Regions from separate parts of the Homo sapiens genome. Here region 2 is linked to region 1. Evidence: promoter capture Hi-C in human tissues and cell types (Jung and others, 2019). All regions are on one chromosome and are shown on one strand. Each heading gives the region's core, a stretch centred on a gene start or on the middle of the fragment in contact. The rest is flanking DNA. Distances are from core to core; before and after follow the strand shown.

Evidence for each region. Contacts are between HindIII fragments. The study calls those that stand out against the background at their distance.
Region 2: a contact is called between a fragment that was not itself captured here and the fragment with the promoter of RAB42 in region 1, in 1 of the 25 tissues and cell types used here (aorta).

The regions. Positions count from the first base shown.
Region 1 is chr1:28,590,557-28,594,387 of GRCh38, forward strand. RAB42 (RAB42, member RAS oncogene family) reads left to right here and starts at 1,709. Exons shown (of 2, transcript NM_001193532.3): 1 at 1,709-2,188; 2 at 3,138-3,831. The coding sequence starts at 1,956. The coding sequence ends at 3,561. RefSeq lists a silencer at 1,850-1,919 and an enhancer at 2,701-3,437. The HindIII fragment of the contact is 15,812 bases long and covers 1-3,831 here.
Region 2 is chr1:29,085,786-29,089,493 of GRCh38, forward strand. The region is part of intron 16 of EPB41 (erythrocyte membrane protein band 4.1); the gene reads left to right. Among named protein-coding and RNA genes, the nearest start is that of TMEM200B, 36 kb to the right of the region's middle. The HindIII fragment of the contact is 7,588 bases long and covers 1-3,708 here.

The DNA of each region.
Region 1 (3,831 bases), core at 459-2,958:
ACTCAGCTTCAACATCAGCTGGGATGGGCTTCTCTGACCCTTTGGCTTCCCAAGTCCAGCTCTATCATGGTGTTTGACGGAATGAATGGATGGGTGAATGAACAGCACTTACCCACTTTCATTAATTCATCTAGCTATAAATATTTACTGAGCTTCTACTTTGTTTATTATTATTTTTTTTTGAGACGGAGTCTCGTTCTGTCACCCAGGCTGGAGTGCGGTGGCGCAATCTTGGCTCACTGCATCCTCCACCTCCCGGGTTCAAGCGATTCTCCTGCCTCAGCCTCCCAAGTAGCTGGGATTATAAGCACGTGCCACCATGCCCGACTAATTTTTGTATTTTTAGTAAAAACGGGGTTTCACCATGTTGGCCAGCTGGTCTCGAACTCCTGACCTGAAGTGATCCACCCTCAGCCTCCAAATGTGCTGGGATCACAGGTGTGAGCCACTGCGCCTTGAGTTTCTACTTTATGCCAAGCGCTGAGTTAGGCCCTGAGGATACAATCATCAGCCCCTGCCCTCAAGGAGCCTGCAGCCTGGGAGAGAGACTGACATCAGAGATGGTCAGAAGTGCATGTGGGCCAGACGTGGTACAGGTTCACACCTGTAATCCCAGCATCCCAGCACTTTGGGAGATGGAGGCGGGCGGATCACTTGAGGTCAGGAGTTTGAGACCACCTTGGCTAACATGGTGAAACCCCGTCTCTACTAAAAATACAAAAATTAGCTGGGCGTGGTGGTAGGTGCCTATAATCCCAGCTACTTGGGAGGCTGAGTTGGGAGGATGGCTTGGACCCAGGAGGTGGAGGTTGCAGTGAGCCGAGATTGTGCCACTGCACTCTAGCCTGGGCGACAGAGTGAGACTCCATCTCAAAAATAAGTAAATAAATAAAAACGAGACTAGAGAGACTAGAGTTGGCTGGAGCAACTGGAACTCCAGCCTCAGTGCCCTGGGTTTCCAGAAGGCCAGCCTGGAAAGGGTGGAGTAAACCTTGGAGGCTCATGTGCTGCCTCACCCTAGCCCCTCACCCAAGCAAAACTCAACCAGTGTCTTAGTGCTTGTGGGACCTGCTTTGTCCCCTTTTGTGGCATCGAAGGGGTGATGAAGGATGAGACAAACCTGGATGTGAGTCCCAACTCTGCTGTGTGACCTGAGACAAGCCGTGCCTCTGAGCCTCAGTCTCCTCAGCTCTAAGAGGGGCACTCCCATGGCCCTGTCAAAGGGTTGCTGTCCACAAAACATGAACTGACCGTTGGCCTCATACATGTTAGTTGTCGAATCCACAGGCCAACTGCACTCCCTTTAGAACTGCAGTTGTCTGTGTCTGTCCTGCCTCCTCAACCAGACTGTGCCCAAGTTCCTTCTGGGGCCCTGGTGTCCAACTCAGACAGGCATTAGAGGAAGCCGTGGGGGCTGTTGAACGTTGAACCTGAACACTGAACTAGAGGCCCCAGGCCGGGGCTAATGAGGGCTCCAGGAAAGGGCTTCTGGGTGGAGAGGGAGCATCTACTAACCACTCACTTCCAGAGTGGCCTTCCCGGGTCCAGCAGAGGGTTGGGCGCCAACTAGGGAACCCACAGAGGAGGCGGGGGGTGGGGCGGGGGAGCGGTGTGGAGCGGGTAAGGGGGTGGGGCTGGAGATTAAGAAATGAGTGAGGTGGATGCTTCAGCGCTGTTAGTCTCCTCCCCATGCCCCTCCTCACTTCATCTAGTTTAGTCCCTTTATCCTGTGAAGTAGGGGTCATCATTAGCCCCCTTTTACAGAGGAGAGAATTGAGGCTTCGAGAGAGAGAAACTTGGCCAGGAGTTTCCACTCGGTCCGACGCCCTCGGTGCCCCGCCGGGTACGGTGGCTGGGCGCGGGGAGCGGGGGGCGGCGCCGGCGGGGCCCCGGGCAGGGGCGGGGTCGGGGCGCGGACAAAACCGCCGCGGGGCGGCGGGGTGGCGGACGCGGCCATGGAGGCCGAGGGCTGCCGCTACCAATTTCGGGTCGCGCTGCTGGGGGACGCGGCGGTGGGCAAGACGTCGCTGCTGCGGAGCTACGTGGCAGGCGCGCCTGGCGCCCCGGAGCCGGAGCCCGAGCCCGAGCCCACGGTGGGCGCCGAGTGCTACCGCCGCGCGCTGCAGCTGCGGGCCGGGCCGCGGGTCAAGCTGCAACTCTGGGACACCGCGGGCCACGAGCGCTTCAGGTGCGGGTAGCCGGGGCGCGGGAGGGACTTCTGGTGGGGGGCTCGGTGAGCGTGCTTTAGGCCACGGCAACTCCCGAGAGGCCAACTCAGAGGTCAGGCGGAGGGCGAGGTCCCTGCCCTGGGTCCCGCCCGGTCCACTGGGGCCAGAACCTCCCCTGCTCGGAGTCATTTTTCCCACGAACACTGCGGGGTGGGTCGAGTCCCAGAGACCAGGAACATCCCTGGCTTTGAGCTCTGGACTCTGGAGAGATGCTGAGTGATACTGGCCCCGGGTGCTGAGAGCTCAGGGGAACAGAGCGGGAAGTGTCGAGGAGATGTGGAAGGGAGAGAGGATCAGCAGGAGTTTGCCAGGAAGAGAACAGAGGAACGAAGACCTAGGTCAGGGCAGCACCAGGCCTTCTCCAAGAATGAGGGATTCAAGTCACGCTTGCTCCCTAACTGGAGCACCCAGACTTTTTTCTTTTCTTTTTTTTTTTTGAGACGGAGTCTCTCTCTGTCGCCCAGGCTGGGGTGCAGTGGTGCGATCTTGGCTCACTGCAAGCTCCGCCTCCTGGGTTCACGCCATTCTCCTGCCTCAGCCTCCCAAGTAGCTGGGACTACAGGCGCCCGCCACCACGCCCGGCTAATTTTTTTGTATTTTCAGTAGAGACACGGGGTTTCACCGTGTTAGTCAGGATGGTCTGGATCTCCTGATCTCGTGATCCACATCCACCCGCCTCGGCCTCCCAAAGTGCTGGGATTACAGGCGTGAGCCACCGCACCCGGCCAGCACCCAGACTGTTAGGAGAGACACAGACACCGAGGCAGAGAACCACGGGGCCGTGTGAAGTGAGCCCTGTTGGGGTGTGAGGCATTCTGTGGATCCCAGGGGGAGGAGGTCCTGCCTCTGGGGGTGTCATGGAGGCATCAGCCTCTCCCAGCTTACCTTTCCACCTCCCTGCCTCCCCAGGTGCATCACCAGGTCCTTTTACCGGAATGTGGTGGGTGTCCTGCTGGTCTTTGATGTGACAAACAGGAAGTCCTTTGAACACATCCAAGACTGGCACCAGGAGGTCATGGCCACTCAGGGCCCGGACAAGGTCATCTTCCTGCTGGTTGGCCACAAGAGTGACCTGCAGAGCACCCGCTGTGTCTCAGCCCAGGAGGCCGAGGAGCTAGCTGCCTCCCTGGGCATGGCCTTCGTGGAGACCTCGGTTAAAAACAACTGCAATGTGGACCTGGCCTTTGACACCCTCGCTGATGCTATCCAGCAGGCCCTGCAGCAGGGGGACATCAAGCTAGAAGAGGGCTGGGGGGGTGTCCGGCTCATCCACAAGACCCAAATCCCCAGGTCCCCCAGCAGGAAGCAGCACTCAGGCCCATGCCAGTGTTGACTCTAGGAGAGAAAGGGTTAAAGCAGTCCCAGCCTTAGCCCACCTGGTGGGATGGGGAGTGTTAATATCTCTCTGGAGGACAAATGACAGAAGGGTTCATATAAACAGTATCCTGACACAGTCATGCTTCCTGGATTTTGGAGTCGAGGCTTTCTACAGAAAAGAAAGTTCTGATGGCCAGGCATGGTGGCTCACGCCTGTAATCCTAGCATTTTTGGAGGCCAAGGACAGTGGATCACCTGAGGTCAGGGGTTCGAGACCAGCCTGGCC
Region 2 (3,708 bases), core at 783-3,282, 500 kb after region 1:
AAGCAATCTGCCCGCCTCGTCCTCCCAAAGTGCTGGGATTAAAGGCGTGAACCACCTCACCCAGCTGACTTTGACTTTCAAAACCAACTAACTAAATTACCAAGGTTTAATATTATATTCCCCTTATAAAAGAGAACTTTTATATTACATACCAGTTACTAGCTTATAATTCTTTCCTCTAACTACTTTTTTCTTTTAGAAGCCTATTAAGGCTTATTTTTTACTGTTTTTAAAAGGCTTGGAAGATGTTAAGGATTTTTTAGCACTTTCTGCATAAATTGTTTACTAGACTCTTCAGGTTTTAAAGATCATTTCACTACTGAAACCAGATACAAGTGCTTGCATAAGAAAATAATCACTTTTTATTACCAAAGTAATACATACTTGTTTTAGAAAGGTTAGGAAATAGAGAAAAACCACAAACAAAAAGATCGTTTGCAATCCCTTGATTATTAATATTTTAGTACACCTTAAAATCTTTTGTCTTTCCTTTTTTTTTTTTTTTTTGAGACAGAGTCTTGCTGTGTCACCAGGCTAGAGTGCAGTGGTGCCATCTCGGCTCACTGCAACCTCCGTCTCCCAGGTTTAAGCGATTCTCCTGCCTCATCCTCCGGAGTAGCTAGGACTACAGGCACATGCCACCACACCCAGCTAATTTTTGTATTTTTAGTAGAGACGGGGTTTCACCATGTTGGCCAGGATGGTCTCGATCTCTTGACCTCATGATCCACCCGCCTCAGCCTCCCAAAGTGCTGGGATTACAGGCATGAGCCACCGCGCCCGGCCACCTTAAGATCCTTTTCATGTGTATATTTATACACATTGGAAAATATAATTTTTAAATGGCTAAGAAATGAAGCATAACTGATCAAGAGGAGGATTTAGTCTTTGAATTATATAGAAAGATAAAATGAGACAATAGCAGTGTGTTTTCTTCCTTTTAATAGAGAAAGGAGTTGTTTTTCTATTGCCACTAAAAGGTAAAATTGGTCTTCACTAAGTGGGGAACAAGTGACTAAATGTGTGGGGATAAAATTACTACACAGGTACTCATACATGGCTCTTATGTAGCAAAATTTTAGAAAAATTTTCAGGATATATTTTCACTTTGATCTCTTAAAGGATAAGACACTCTTGTAAGCTTAACTGTGGTTCTTTTTTTTTTTTTTTTTTTTTTGAGACAGAGTCTTGCTCTGTCGCCCAGGCTGGGGTGCAGTGGCACAATCTTGGCTCACTGCAAGCTCCGCCTCCTGGGTTCACGCCATTCTCCTGCCTCAGCCTGAGTAGCTGGAACTACAGGCGCCCGCCACCATGCCCGGCTAATTTTTTGGAGTTTTAGTAGAGACAGGGTTTTACCATGTTAGCCAGGATGGTCTCCATCTCCTGACCTTGTGATCCGCCCGCCTTGGCCTCCCAAAGTGCTGGGATTACAGGTGTGAGCCACCGTGCCCAGCCAACTGTGGTTCTTTTGATAGTCTCTTCAAATATGTAAATCCTTACTTCAAAAATAACCTGAAAAGAAATAGACTCTGGATTGCATTTGTTGGAGTGGCAGCAAAATACCTATAAAACACCCATATCCTGCTTTTTTTTTGAGATGGAGTTTTGCTCTTGTTGCCCAGGCTGGAGTGCAATGGCACAATCTCAGCTCACTGCAACCTCCACGTCCTTGGTTCAAGCAATTCTCCTGCCTCAGCCTCCCGAGTAGCAGGGATTACAGGCATGCGCCACCACACCTGGCTAATTTTGTATTTATATTAGAGACGGGGTTTCTCCATGTTGGTCAGGCTGGTCTCGAACTCCCAACCTCCGATGATCACCCGCCTTGGCCTCCCAAAGTGCTGGGATTGTAGGCGTGAGCCACTGCGCCCGGCCCATATCCTGCTTTTAATAATATCTGGAATTCATAGGTCAAAAAAGGGGTAATTTATAACTCATAAAGGCATATATATAATCAGGGTCTGATGATTCTGAGACATAATCCCTTTGCATAAATAGTTTTTGAGAGAAAGCCTTTAGGAAAAAAAATCTTGTTTTCTTCCCCAAAACAAAGAAAATACTGAATTATCATACTTAGCAGGAGCCATTGACTTTTTAAATGAAATTGAGAATCTTCAAATAATGTTTCTGTTCAGTTAAATATTTGTCTAATATTCTTTTTTTCATATTATTAAAACCAACTAGATATCATTGCAGTACTTTATATATATAGGCAGCCAATCTTTCTATCATAGCATCTTTTTTCCTTTTTCTTTTTTTCTTTTTTTCTTTTTTTTTTGAGATGGAGCCTCCCTCCTGTCGCACAAGCTGGAGTGCAGTGGCACGATTTCAGCTCACTGCAACCTCCACCTCCTGGGTTCAAGCGATTCTCCTTCCTCAGCCTCTTGAGTAGCTGGGATTACAGGCGTGCGCTACCACGCCTGGCTAATTTTTGTATTTTTAGTAGAGACGGGGTTTCGCCATGTTGGCTAGGCTGGTCCTAAGCTCCTGACCTCAGGTGACCCACCCGCCTCGGCCTCCCAAAGTGCTAGGATTACAGGTGTGAGCCCCTGCACCCGGCCAGCATCTTTTTTCTTACAGATTCCCCATCAGTTCAGGTAAGCGACATCTAGATTAACACCTTTGAATCACATTAAGTCTCAGCTTTGCCTTTTTGTCACTGAGGATGGTTCAGACACAGCCATATATTCATCTTCTACTTGAGAAGATCCCTTTAAAGTTTTCAGGCTAATTTGGTATGTGCAGTTGCAGTCTTATATAATCCAATGGCCCTTGATGATGGTCACAGCCAAAGGCAACAACACTGTCAGAATTCTTTACTGATATTAAATGCCAAATTCTGGGTGTCTTGTGTCATGGAGACTTTATATTTTCTTCTGGCCAGTCTTGTCTTCTGGCTTCTCAGCCTTCTTATATGTAAAAATCTAGTGTCAGCCACTCAGAACAGACTCTGTTAAGAGGAGTTTGGGCGCTGTTTGTATGTCTCAAAGTTAAAGTCGGGTTTGCTGTGTGTTATTTTGAGCATAATAGGACATGTCCTGAAGCTGGGCACACTGGCATGTGCCTGTAGTCCTAGCTAATCGGGAGCCTCAGATGGGAAGATCCCTTGGGCCCAGGGATTTGAATCCTGCCTGAGCATCATAGTGAGAGCCTATGTCTAAAAAATAAATATATACATAAGTAAAATAAATAGGACATGTGCTTTGGTCCTACTTGAAATACCTTCTGGTGTCATGGGAAGAAGATGGGCTTTAGAACCAGAGATAGATCTGAGTCTAAACACTAGCTGCTCATCTGTTCATCTATAAAATAGAAATAATGACTACTTCATAATTATACTGTAAATAATTAAATGAAAAAACATGCTCAAGTGATTAGCACAGCACCTGGCACATGGTAAACATACAAAAATATTAGTTTTCTCTTATTTTACTGATGGAGGAGATAAAATGCTGGACTAGACTATGAGTCTGGTCAAATGAGCCACTGTTTATTTCTTCCTAAACATGCTTTTCTAAACATTTTAGTTACAGAATAGCACAGGACAAAGAAGAAGTTCTCAAGTGACCTGGATTTACCTAACATACCTTCAACACGTTTTTACTGAGCATCTATTACATACCAAAAACTGTACAAGAAAGATAGAGAGCTAAGTAAGACAGTAACAAGTTCTCATCCCCCAAGGATTTCATAGGCTAATGGAAAAGA